3 separate regions of the Homo sapiens genome follow, and regions 1 and 3 are each linked to region 2. The links are contacts of gene promoters, found by promoter capture Hi-C in blood cells and fetal thymus (Javierre and others, 2016). All regions are on one chromosome and are shown on one strand. The core of a region is centred on a gene start or on the middle of the fragment in contact, and the rest is flanking DNA. Distances in the headings are between cores, read along the strand shown. Region 1 has its middle 9.4 kb from the start of GDAP1. Region 2 holds the start of PEX2 (peroxisomal biogenesis factor 2). Region 3 holds the start of HEY1 (hes related family bHLH transcription factor with YRPW motif 1).

Region 1 (4,536 bases), core at 298-2,797, 2.7 Mb after region 2:
ACAAGTGCAACTCATTAAGTCAGGACACCTTTGCTTTGAGGTTACTGTAGACTTATAATAGTTTAATATTCTAGTTTCCCAAAGAATGGCTAATAATGTTAATGATGCACTAAGTTCTTTTAATAGGAAATTCACTTTAAGTGAAAATTCACTTTTCTTGTGAAAAATATTTGACATATCTATCTATGCTCTTTCATCCATCTCTTCTGTGATGAACGGTGTACATATTCAGAATAAGTATATGAATATAGACCAATCAAAGATGCATTTGCACCACGTGGTTGCTAATATTTCTTAGAGTGTTTTCTGTGTGCCAGGAAATGTTTTAAGGGCTTTATATGTATATTGTACTTAACACTTGCAAAATCCCTTAAAGCAGGGAGAAATCCTCATCCCTGTTTTACTGATGAGGATACTGAGGAACAAAAATTTTCCCAAACTCACACTGTTCATGTCAAAATTGGGACTTAAACCCAACAGTCTGGTCCAGAGATTGTGTTCTTACCACTACACGATCTGGCCTTACTGTATGAGGCACAATCACAGTCATCAGTTTGATTTCACTAGTCCTACATATAAATATCACCTATTCCTTAAGTCACTAATTATTTTACCTTAGGAAATTTTTGCCCAAGATTGTTTTGAGTTCATAGAAAAAAACTGGGAGAAACAGAGTAGAGAGAATATCCTGCTAAAAGTAAACCAACACTTATTACAAATTTGTCCCAACATTGCTTTAATAATATCTAATTTCCTTCTAAAAGCTTACAAAGTGCCTTTGTAAACAGTACTCATTTGATTTTTCCAACAACCCTTCCAGTAGAAATAAGAAATTAGCACTGAGGTGTGAAGTTCACTACCTCACTAATAATCAGTAGAGCTGGAACTAAAACCCAGCGCTTCTAGCTGCAAACTCACTGTATGCTCTAATCATTTCCCACAGCCTCGGTGTGGCCTACCACTTGCCTCAGCTTGTATGCAGAACCAACTCTAGAGCCCTCTCTTTACCTATTGGCAACACAGCCTGACTTCAGTTCAGTTTCTTGGCTTTTGGACACATTGATTCGGTCATGGAATCTTCCCAGTGTATGAGGGCAATGGCTTCACCATGTAATTTCTCCACTGTAACATAGCATTACCCTTCACTCCAGAATATGGAGTTGTAGTTAAGAGCTCAAAATCTAAAGCCAGAACTGGATTCAAATCTGGCTTCACTGCTCACTAGCTATGTGATCATGGGCACGGCTTCCTCATCTATAATCCAGGTAAAGTAATTACACCACCTTTATTGGGATATTTTGAGGATTCATTGTGATTTTTAACATGTTAACTAACACAATTTTAGCACATGGCACATAAGAAGTATAATAGATAATAATGATAGAATGGTAAAAATAACTGACTTTTTGAATACTCTGGGTAAATGTCAGCTAATAATGTGTTCTCCAGTGTATCCTGCCAGATTGGCTGCACTCTGTAACTTCATTTTTGGCAATTCTCTCTAATGGTTTACAATGAATTTTAGGTATTTATACTTCAAAAATACATGTGAAATAATCACCACTAGCTGGAAATTACAGTTGATGAAAGAAATAACAAATAATAAAAATTCTTAAATACTACTCATATTTCCACAGATTCTTTTCTTGACTTCATGCTAAGCCTGTTGAAAATCATTAAAAGAACATCTCAATGGTTATATTAATATTCTGCAAAAATCACTTATAGTATGAAAGTAAGAAAAATCTAGGAGAAAAAAAGGAGGCACTTCCCACTGTCATCCAATATTTGAATAAAACTAATAGTATCACAAACATTTGTCTTATTAAGAATAATTAAGAGTTATATTTATAAATGCAACTATAAAAGCCTGTAGGATATTTTAGACACAATCTTAGAAACGCACACTGCACAGAGGATACTTAATGCTTAGGTTTGAAATTGCAGCTTTTAATTAGTTATATTTCCTAAAGTTAAGTGCTTTCTTACTAATTTAAAATGTGTTTCTGTACATTTTAACTATCCTCTCAGTGGAGAGTGCCTTTTTCTTGCTATTTCCCAGTAAATGATTCAAGTAGTCTTCCTGGACATCTTATTTTATCATTCTCTTTTCATATTTAAAGGAATCTTTCCAGAGACTTAAGATCATTTGGAATATAGCTTTGTCATTCAAATTAGAGTATTTAAGAATACACTGGAATTTATTTTTCAAACATCCTTGCTGTTGTGTTCTTTTCGTCACTAAATAATACACAGAAAAGTTAATTTATGTCTGCATTGTCTCTGGCTACGTGAGAAACACGGCATAAAAACTCAGAGACATAAGCTTTAAAGAAAGAAAATGCTAATGTTGCAAAGGTTTCTCTAAGTAAGATTTTGCTTTGTAACTGTATAAATAGGGCAAGTTAAAGTTCTGGGCAGCAGCAGACAATGAGCAGCAATAATCATTTATGTTTCTTTGGCACCAGCTTCAACACACTGGTATGATTTTTTTTTTCTTAACCACCCGTTACCAAGGACAGTGACAGCACAAATATGAGAATGATTACAGTACTATAAAAACATACTTCACTTACCTTGTTTGTCTTAATAAGATCCTAAAGAAGCATAAGATAACAGTGACAATAGAATATAGTGCTGAATTTTACAGAGACACCAAAGTGTAAAACAACATTGGCTTTCACTTAAGTACTATATTTTTCAAATAAAAGTAATATTGCAATCCATAAAGAAAAGATCAATTTAAATCCTCAGTATGTAATTGAAACAAATGAAAGCACGGAGTTGAGTCTGTGGTTACTAAAGTTCCATGAGAGAAAGGGGTGATGTGGCCAAAGTGAACCTGCTTCCAGGGATTCCCTGCGGGGACAGGTTGGAAAAGTCGGTGAACCACAAAGATGGCAGAGCGGAAAAGCTTCACTTTATGAAACTGCATCATTTTGGAGCAGGGAAGTTTAACAGAAAAAAGGGAAACTGGTCAAATTCAGGTGATGCCTTGGTTTCCAAAGCACATATGAAGAATCAGCTACATATGTTAGCTTGAAAACTATTCAGCCTAAGAGACTCCTGCTGTATGCAAGTTATGAAAATGCATAAGCCCCATCCTACCAGTTTCAAGTGGCAAAAGAAGATGGTAAAAACACAACTCCCCAGAGATATGGACATTTAGTATATGAAATTGGAATATATATGAAAATAGAGAGATGAAGTTGAGGCATCTAGAGCCTTAATGGCTAAAATCCAGTGGCTTGGTCTGGAAGGGAAGCCTTGATGAGTTTTGAAGGGAGATATTCCTTCCTGTTAGACTTCCCAGAGCAAAGGTGCTGATTCTGTGCAAAGAAGTCACTGAAATCTGATGGGCCCTCTTTAAATAACTGATGATCAATGAGAGCCCTCTTTTTTACCTTCCTGATTACATCTGGGCCTTCACGGCTGTGGCAGCTGCAGACAACAGCAAGTTCTCAGGCAGACATGCAGGGAAGTTCTCAGCTCCGCTCTCAAGAGCCCTGAGCCAGTTGTCCTGAAAGCTGATTTAGAATGTCCTCCCCTGTGGCCAAGAGGGTGCCAAGCCCCTTCTAGCTCTGAGTTGGGGTCTAGACCCTATGCCCTGTTTCTTTCTGTGCTAAGTCACAGCTCTGAAATCAGCACCAACTTTTGTACACGTTGCTTCCAAAGCCCTGAGCCACCCCTCATAGCAGTGGGCCTGCTGGGTGCCGTAAATGTGATCCTGTCTGTCGTTTTAGCCTCAGCAGAAGAGCGACATGACCATATTTATTGCTGTTGCTATTCTGGGGGGTGGATGACGTTTTTCTCCCCTTGTGGCTGAGCCCTGCCTGTTCATCTTTCACCACTCCCTCCAAGTCTACAAGACTAAAACCAGTGATACAAATAGATTCTATCAGGAGGAAAGTTAAAATGAGAAGTTCTTAGGCATTTCCAAATCTATCTGCTGTATGTCATCAAAAGCTTCAAAATCTGTTGGCCTACATTTTAAACGTGTACTGTTAGCATCCCACTAGTACCATAAACAGCTATTGGTGGTAACCTTGTTAAGGAAAGAAAAGATGGATAAAGGGTGGGGGCGGGGGGAGCGGGGGGTGAAAAAAACAGTTTGACTGATAAGCACAGCTTAGAAATTTGGCAAATATTGGCTTTTTCACTGCGGAGTGTTGGGAGTGTCCAAGTGTTGCCAGAACACTTGAAGATTTTCTACTTGCCTGTGTGTGAGCTCAGTCTCTCCACTCTTCCTAAGACACTCCTCTTTTGTGACGTGAAAGAAACTAAATGACAAGCCACCGAAACTCCAATTAAGGATAAAATGATACAAGGCACAGGTGACGGCTCCTGGGACGTAAGTATACACAGGTTTTCTAAATGAAGGACTTAGATACATAAATAACTAATTACAACATGCATTACATGATGCACCAAAAGAGAAGGACTCTTCCTGCTTTTTGGGGTTGTAAAAAGGAAAGAAAGAAAGAAAGAAAGAAAAACAACAAATGAGACTGATTTTGGCTCCCTCCATGTCTGTAT
Region 2 (4,091 bases), core at 1,078-3,577:
TCCATCTTTTCTATGTAAAGGTTAAAAAAACAATTTTAATTTTTCTTCTTTAACTTCTCATAGTTAATGAACAAATTAACTTTGATTTTTTTCCTAATATTTTTAAGTCCACAGCCAAGTTCTAATAAAGACTCTTAACATGTCACTAGAAATATATAAATTCTAGGTTTAAAATAACTCATGTTTTGCATTTACAGAGGTAAACATTTACTAAGAAGAAAATATTCTGTCTTGGTTATTATTTACTTATTCACTGCCTCTGAACTGATATGAATTAGCTCTGAGAGAGTAAGAGCCGTGTCTGTTTTCTGTCTTCACATTTTTATCAACACTGCCTAGCAAAACTCCCGGGCCTCAGAAAGCTTTTGTTAAATAAATGAATGAAAAATAAATATATCTTTAAAAAACTGGAAACAAAGCTTCCCTGGAACCTCAGCTCACCAGCTCATGGGAAAATTAAGAAGGTATACTGTATCTACAGGTTAAACATTAAAATCTAGAACTTATTTTAAACAATTTCAACAGAATTTTAACTGTTGCATGTTTCCCCGCATTCTTAATGAGATTCATTAAATATGATTCAAGTTTCTTGATATCTTTATTATTTTCATTCGCTACTGTGTGATGTTCACATGACATACATAAGGCTCTATGAACCAGAATTTGCTTTCTGAAAATGTCCTCTATGTCAATCAAGTCTTTGTGTGTATTTTCCCCCGTCCCTCTCAAAAATTAAGTGAAGCACAGCACATCTGTAGGCTACCTGAGAGGTGCAGCGTGGTTGGTTTTCTTCACAGTTGCTAAACGAAAGGCCTACTCTTCTTCAGTGAGATTTTTTTACTCTCTAGAACAGCAGTATCCATAGAAATATAATGGAAGCCACGTAATTTAAAATTTTCCAAAACATTCTCATTTTGACATGTAAGCAATATAAAATTAATGAAATACTTTACATTCTTTTTCTTTTCAGACCACGCTTTAGAAATCTGGTGCATGTTCTACACTTAGAGCAGACCTCAGTTCAGACTAGCCACTTTTCAGGTGGCCAGTGACTACTACACTGGACAGTTGCAGCTCTAGAAAATCCACTCCCAAACCCCTAAGTGAACTACATACTCTATCAATTTGTAGCTTCTACTCTATCTCATTTGTACCATTGTTTCACAATTTGGATAGCATTAGAGTTAATAAATTTTATTTTAGCAACTCTGCTCCATGGGTAGTTTCTGAAATAAAAATACAAGCAAAAAAAAAAAAACTTTCCTAATAACACTGGTTCTACAGTATAAGCTCTCCCTCGAATGTCTAATAGAGCTTTCGTAGAAGTGAGTGTTCCTTGTAGGAACGGTGAGTCGAGACTGGAGGTAAGAACTAAGACGTTCTTAAACCCTACTACGTGCTGGAATCCTGAAGTGCCTGCCATCATTCAAACTTAAGCACTAACTCTCTAGAGAGACACTGCCATTCATACCACAGAACGAGAAGGCAGTGGCGATCCTCAACGGCTACATGTCACTGCCTGGTGAGCACTCTTCCCTCAGACCCCATTCCCAGAAGCTCTGCCTCGATTCCCCAGGGGTAGGCGAGCTGGCTGCCCGAATTCCTAAGCGTTACCGGGGAGATGTGAGGGCCTCCGGGGGCGGGAAACCTCAGGCCAGGCGCGCGCTGGCCCGCTCTACGGGGTCTCTCGGGAGCGCTTTGCAGGGCGGATGACTGACGGGCCAGCTACCTGCCTTCCTGAGCCTGCAGAGATAAACAGCCTATCCTCCCTGTGCACACAGGCCCCGAGGGCGGGCAGGTCTCCAAGCGCAGCACAACTGCCCCAGGCCCGACGCAGCCACCTGCCCGAGGGCTCCCTCCCCACCAGGCCATCCCTCAGCCGGTCCTCCTCCGACAGCGAACAAGGAACCCCGGAGGCGCGGAGGCGTCTCGCCGCCACCCGGCGGCGCCTGCCAGAGGCCCTTCGCGATGTCCGCAAGCAGAGAAAGCCCTGCCCTCCCAAGCCCCGGCTTCCCCTAGGCCCCTCGACACTTGTAGTGTCCTCACTTGCGGCCCCTGACCCGGGGCTGACCGGTTCGTGACTCTCCTGCCAATCAGAGACAGAGTTCTTCCGGCCAACCGGCCAATCACCGCGCGCGGGTGTCCGCTTCGGCTTTTCGGCCCTTCGGCTCTTCGGCTTGTCGGCGTTCGCGGTTGTTTGGCCATCCAGTGCCTTCAGCAGCGCCGCTAAAGCGCAGTTCTCGTTGGTGTAACTTTTTCTTTTTTTTTTCAGCCACTTCCGGCTCCTGCGTCGCTCCGGAAGCCTGCGAGTTCCGGAAGCCTTGGTAATCCAGATTCGGCTAGGAAAAGACAAGCTTTCCAGAGAATGTTTCAGAGAAAGTTACGTGGAGCGTGGGCGTTTCGCAGACTCCTAAGGTCAGTGTCTGCCCTAGAGAGCCGGAGTGCAAACCCGAGGTCTTGTTTTCAGCTGGGAGGTCGTGGAGTTTCACGACCTTGTAATTGTCGCCGTTTGCTTTTTTTTCCCTGTTTATTGGCTTCCTGTCTCCCTGGAAAAGGCAAATCAAAGCTGCTGAATTTTGGGAAAGGCAGTGAAGCAAACCTAAACTCCTAAAGATGTTTTTAGGATCGCGGCATTAAAAATAAACACACACACAGCTGCAGTTGAGCCCCTCTGCATTCCACGTAGTAACTTAAGAGACGAACTTCGAAATCTTTTTCTCTCATTTGGCGGTCGTGAAGATATTTACCTCTTATAAACGGCTTTATAAAGAATTGAGGATCCAAACTTTACTTAATATCTGAAAGTTCATGTAAAGTGTTATATGTAGTACAAAAAATTTGAGTGCTTAGTTTTCTAACACTGTTGAAAGCGCACGTAAATGCAGTTTGGTTTTCTTATGGAGGAAGAGATAATGAAAAGTTTCTGATAAAATTGCTTGCGATAAATTAGTTATATTTCACGTTGACTTTTGATAAGAAATCTGAATGTGAGAATTGTTAACATTTTTTCCTGGGTTCTTAAATTAAAAATCGTTGTTTGTTTATTTATTGAGGTACCATTTTCCAAATTTCCCACATTTAGTGAAAGGGCTTTTGGCAAAATGAGCAAGCTGTTGAACGTTCAAGTCTAACACATTCTGTTAAACTTCCGTGATGCCCCTCGGAAATATTTTATCTTGACGTTTCGGACAATTAAATGATACTTGGGCGCTCACAACACCGCAGCTTGTAGTCTAAACACCTTCCCCTAAAGTGTTACCTTTACTTAATCCTGAACAGAATGAACTTGGGGTGGCTCTTTTAACTTATCTGATCTCACCTATATTATCAATTACTTGTTTCCAGAAAGATTACAGTTGAGTGATCTTGAGCCAGAAAGAGATTTGAAAGAATTATTTACAGAGTCAAAAAAAAAAACCCTTCATATTTTTTTCTTAAAAAAAAAAATAGAAGTAACAGGACATAGAGCGAATACTAGACTAGTAGACTGAAGAGTATTAGACTAAATCAAGACAGTTGGATTCTAGTCCTGACTCTAGTTGCCTTTGTACAATTTTACCTCTTGGCCGTATTCTCCTTATTTTTAGAAACTAGTGTTAGTACTCAAGCTGGGGTTTTAAAACTGTTCCATAGGAGAACTTGTGTAGAAATTTTCTGGAGCCGTGCAGGGAGAGACAAAGCAAGCCCACCCTCAGGTTTATTTTAACAAGAGCAGCCATTTAGGTGTTCCGCTTGAATAACAAGGTTCTTGTTAAGAAGATTAAATTTATGTCTTAAACGAGATGATCTGCCTTTTCTTCTAGCATTAAAATTCTGGTTTTTGGGATAATTATTCATTTGTACTCAATGTACATTTATTACAGTTTTTAAAAATAATATATTCACAGCTAATTTATTTCTAAAAGCTACAAATATGTCCCTATTCTGTTTCAATTTATTTTATCAATACAAATTTGAAATGTTTTTCTTTATGAACAGAATTAGAATTTATTATTCCTTCTTCTCCATATCCTTTTATTTTAGCCATAAAAGTTTTGCTTATATTTGATGCACATAATGATTCTTGCCGTAGGGAGGACAAGTATTTTTCA
Region 3 (3,908 bases), core at 934-3,433, 2.8 Mb before region 2:
GGTGGAGTTTCAGGAAGCCAGAGGTCTGGGGTGCCAGCAGCAACAAACCCAGGCTGGCTGATGGAAGGGCCCAGCCTAGACAGGGAAGCAGAGGGGCTGCATGGAAAGGCTCAGGGCTGGAGGTGATGTGAAGTGGAATAAGCTTCAGTGGGAGCCAGGAGGTTGTATTTCCCGTTGGGGGCGGTGGTGGAGGGATGGGGGTGCCCAGAGAGGAACTATGGATTAGGCCCAGGCCGGCCACTCAGAGTGCTTGGCATCCAGGATGTGTTAAGATGGCATTGAGGCCGAGCGCGGTGGCTTAGGCCTGTAATCCCAGTACTTTGGGAGGCCAAGGCAGGCGGATCACCTTTGGTCAGGAGTTTGAGACAAGCCTGGCCAACATGGTGAAACCTCGTTTCTACTAAAAATACCAAAAACAATTAGCTGAGCATGGTGGCGCGCGTCTGTAATCCCAGCTTCTGGGGAGGCCGAGGCAGGAGAATTGCTTCAACCCGGGAGGCGGAGGTTGCAGTGAGCCGAGATCGCGCCACTGCACTCCAGCCTGGGCGACAGAGTGAGACACCATCTCAAAAAAAAAATAGCATTGAGATCAATAAGGAAGTCTAGAAACCAGGAAGCTTTTTGCAAAGAGAAAACGCCTTTTGTTATTCTCACCGATGGATATTAAGCTTTCCCTCACAGACAGGACTACAAGCTTCAGAGTGGATCTGAGATGAATGCGAATTGCTGTGTACCTTTGTAAGGGACAGAAGACCGGATTTTCAAATTTAAAACAACCATTCTGTTTCTGGAATCAGAAATCAGTTTCGAGATTTACAACTGTATTTTTTAAAAAATCTGTCTTCTTAGTGGACTCGGGGGGGACTTCACGTGGCACCCAGTACACGCCACGCCAAGCCACCGAAGCCAGAGGTGTGTGTCTGGGGCCAGAGACGTGCATTCCCTCAGCAAGGCCGGCCTCAGACGCAAACGCCAGCACCGCCACCCTGTCGCCCGCTGAGAGGATCTGGCCGCCGGGGGGAGGGGGCGGGGGGGGGGGCAGCGGGGGAACAACAAAAAAATCCCAGCATAATGATTATTCCCAGGGACCGTTGGGTTTTTTTTTCCCCAAGGCGGCCGAAAAAACAAGTGCTCCCCTTCCCCGGAAATGAGATGCACAGGGGTATTCATTCCATTCCGCGGCTGGGAAGCCCCTGCGGAAACGAGTCTGGCTGCATGTGCGGCCTCGGTCCCAGAAATCAAAAAGAGCGTCCCCTGAGCCCACAGCTTGCTCCTCCATGTGACCGGCCCCTGGGCTGGTGGCCACTGTGGACGCGCCCGGCGCCCCCTCTCCCGGCTCCCTGCGGGTTCCGCGGAGCCGCCGGCGCGCAGCCCGGCCAGGTGCACCCGGCACGGCCCCACTAACAGCGCGCGCCTCCAGCCGCCGGGCACTGGCGGCCACGCGGGCGAGATTTACGGTGGCGCTAGGCGGCGGCTTCCGAGGCCGGCCGGCGCCCAGGCTCCGATTACAGGTTCACACTGGGGGCCCGGCCGGCGGCCGCCCAGCCCCCGCCGGCGCGCCCTCGCGCGGCCCGGCTCCCCGCCTGCCCATTCTTCTCCATTCATGCGGACGCCCAGCGCCGCCGCCGCCGCCGCCAGCGCGGCCGCCGCCGTCGCCGTCGCCGGCCGCCCGGATTGGCTGGCGGCCGCGGCGCCGGCACTTTCCCACGGCCCGCGGCGCGTGCGGCTCACCGGAGGCGCTGCAGGCTCGGCCCTGGCGCGCGGCCAGGCCAATCGGGGCGCGCGGGGCGGGGAGGAGCCGCGGCCGCCGGCGGGCTTGTGTCCCGGCCCGGCCTCCCGCGCCTCCCCGCCGCCCGCGCCTCCTCCTTCCCCTGAGTGCAGGCTGGACAGAGCCCCCGCGGAGCCGACGCACCGCCGCCGGGCAGGGGCGGGCGCGGAGGGCGGGGGCGCGGTCCGCTAGAGCCCTCGGCCTCGCTCCCGCCCCTCCCCGGAGCGGCTGCCAATCAGCGGCGCGAGAAACCGGATTGGCCGGGGGGCGGCTGTTGCCCTGGAGTTGCCGCCCCGCCTCTCCGCCCCCTCGCCCGCCTTCCCCACTCCCCCGCCCTCCCCAGGGCCCTGGGAAGGGGCTCAGCGTGGGAAAGGATGGTTGAGTTTTAACCAGAGGCAAAGCGTGAGCGGGATCAGTGTGTGCGGAACGCAAGCAGCCGAGAGCGGAGAGGCGCCGCTGTAGTTAACTCCTCCCTGCCCGCCGCGCCGACCCTCCCCAGGAACCCCCAGGGAGCCAGCATGAAGCGAGCTCACCCCGAGTACAGCTCCTCGGACAGCGAGCTGGACGAGACCATCGAGGTGGAGAAGGAGAGTGCGGACGAGAATGGGTGAGCTGGCGGCGGCGGAGCGGAGCCGAGCCAGAGCGGGAGGCGAGCGCAGGCCTGCCGCGGTGACAGCGGGCTAGGACCCTTGGCGCGCCGGTGCCCTGCGCTGACCTCCGCGCGTCGCAGGCTGGCGGCAGCCTGCGGCCAGGGAACCCCTAGGTGCCTTCCAGCCCAAGTGGCAAAAAAAGTCTGAGTGCGGGGAGGGTGTGGGGGCGACCTCTCAGATCACCTCTCCTCGTTTAACGGCGATTTCAGTTTTTGTTTGTTCTTTTTCTCTTTTCAGAAACTTGAGTTCGGCTCTAGGTTCCATGTCCCCAACTACATCTTCCCAGATTTTGGCCAGAAAAAGACGGAGAGGAGTGAGTCTCTTTACACTCTCCTTTTATTTTTGTTATTGATTAACGGAAATAACCACCTTTTTTTTTGTCTTTGAAATTTACAGTCGTAATGGTAATGCCTTCCTTTGTTTTGCTTGCCTTCTGCAGATAATTGAGAAGCGCCGACGAGACCGGATCAATAACAGTTTGTCTGAGCTGAGAAGGCTGGTACCCAGTGCTTTTGAGAAGCAGGTAATGGAGCAAGTAGGTAAAGCTCTCAGCATAGCTATCTGCACCTTCTGAATCTTCCCCTCATTAATCTCATCCGCCTTGGAAAATAGCTGTGTTGCTTGTGCCTAGATGAATTCGTACACAGATACCAGCGTATTTTGTGAAGACAACTGATTTTGCTTTAGTCCATGCTTTACGATTTACAAAGCATGTATCTTTGTATATATGTTTGCATATTTTAAATTGTTCCCCAAAGGAACTTGTGCCAAATCAATCTTTTGCCATTCTCATCTTTAGGGATCTGCTAAGCTAGAAAAAGCCGAGATCCTGCAGATGACCGTGGATCACCTGAAAATGCTGCATACGGCAGGAGGGAAAGGTACATCTCCTAGACCTAGTGGGGGCTCTGAATGGTTGGCAAAGAGTGAGCAGCGGCTGAAGGCCAGGATTGGTGCAGTAGCTGCCTGATTTTTCTTTGGGGGTGGGGAGAGAACGGTGTGTGGTGTGTGCAGTTCCCTGTCAGTACATTTTCGAATGCACATAGAATCTTCTCCAGTGAATTCACCACCCCAGCTCTCTGCGGATTGAGCTAGTGCATCTTTTGGAAAAATACCTATTATTTGTGAGGTCTTCAAAAGTTGTGACAGCCCTGATTCAGATCAGGTAGCTTTCACATTTGTCCATTGCTATTTTGAGAAAAAGCATTTAAAAACAATATGTGGTCTTATTTTTGGTATACGGGATTTTAAAAAAAAGGTGCTGCCACATGCCTCTTGAGGAAAGAAATGTATTCTGGTTAAGTAAAGGAAACCTAACGGGAGACCAAGGTCTGTGTGTATGTCTCTCCAGCAGGAAAATGCTTTACTGAGGTCCAAGTGCCTAAAAGCTCCGCGATGATAACTTACATCTGTGTGTCTAATGAATTTCACTGCTCTGTGGTTTCTCTGCCCTTGATGTATTTTTTGTTGTTGTTGAGGGAAAACATTAA

The links. Contacts are between HindIII fragments. The CHiCAGO score rates a contact against its expected background, and 5 or more counts as called.
Region 1: a fragment that was not itself captured here is called in contact with the fragment with the promoter of PEX2 in region 2 in 1 of 17 cell types (total B cells); the score reaches 5.3 in total B cells.
Region 3: a contact is called between the fragment with the promoter of HEY1 here and the fragment with the promoter of PEX2 in region 2, in 1 of 17 cell types (non-activated CD4 T cells). The highest score is 11.5, in non-activated CD4 T cells.

The regions. Positions count from the first base shown.
Region 1 is chr8:74,338,756-74,343,291 of GRCh38, reverse strand. No RefSeq gene overlaps it. Among named protein-coding and RNA genes, the nearest start is that of GDAP1, 9.4 kb to the left of the region's middle. The HindIII fragment of the contact is 1,562 bases long and covers 767-2,328 here.
Region 2 is chr8:76,998,314-77,002,404 of GRCh38, reverse strand. It overlaps PEX2 (peroxisomal biogenesis factor 2), which reads left to right and starts at 2,327. Exons shown (of 4, transcript NM_000318.3): 1 at 2,327-2,415. RefSeq lists an enhancer at 2,038-2,332. The HindIII fragment of the contact is 1,935 bases long and covers 422-2,356 here.
Region 3 is chr8:79,766,042-79,769,949 of GRCh38, reverse strand. It overlaps HEY1 (hes related family bHLH transcription factor with YRPW motif 1), which reads left to right and starts at 2,183. Exons shown (of 5, transcript NM_012258.4): 1 at 2,183-2,375; 2 at 2,656-2,731; 3 at 2,858-2,941; 4 at 3,218-3,299. The coding sequence starts at 2,287. It overlaps LINC01607 (long intergenic non-protein coding RNA 1607), which reads right to left and starts at 1,808. Exons shown (of 4, transcript NR_125410.1): 1 at 1,732-1,808. LOC101927040 (a long non-coding RNA gene) reads left to right here. Exons shown (of 6, transcript NR_110954.1): 6 at 1-578. RefSeq lists silencers at 1,011-1,180, 1,281-1,640, 1,681-2,160 and an enhancer at 2,611-2,660. The HindIII fragment of the contact is 6,216 bases long and covers 697-3,908 here.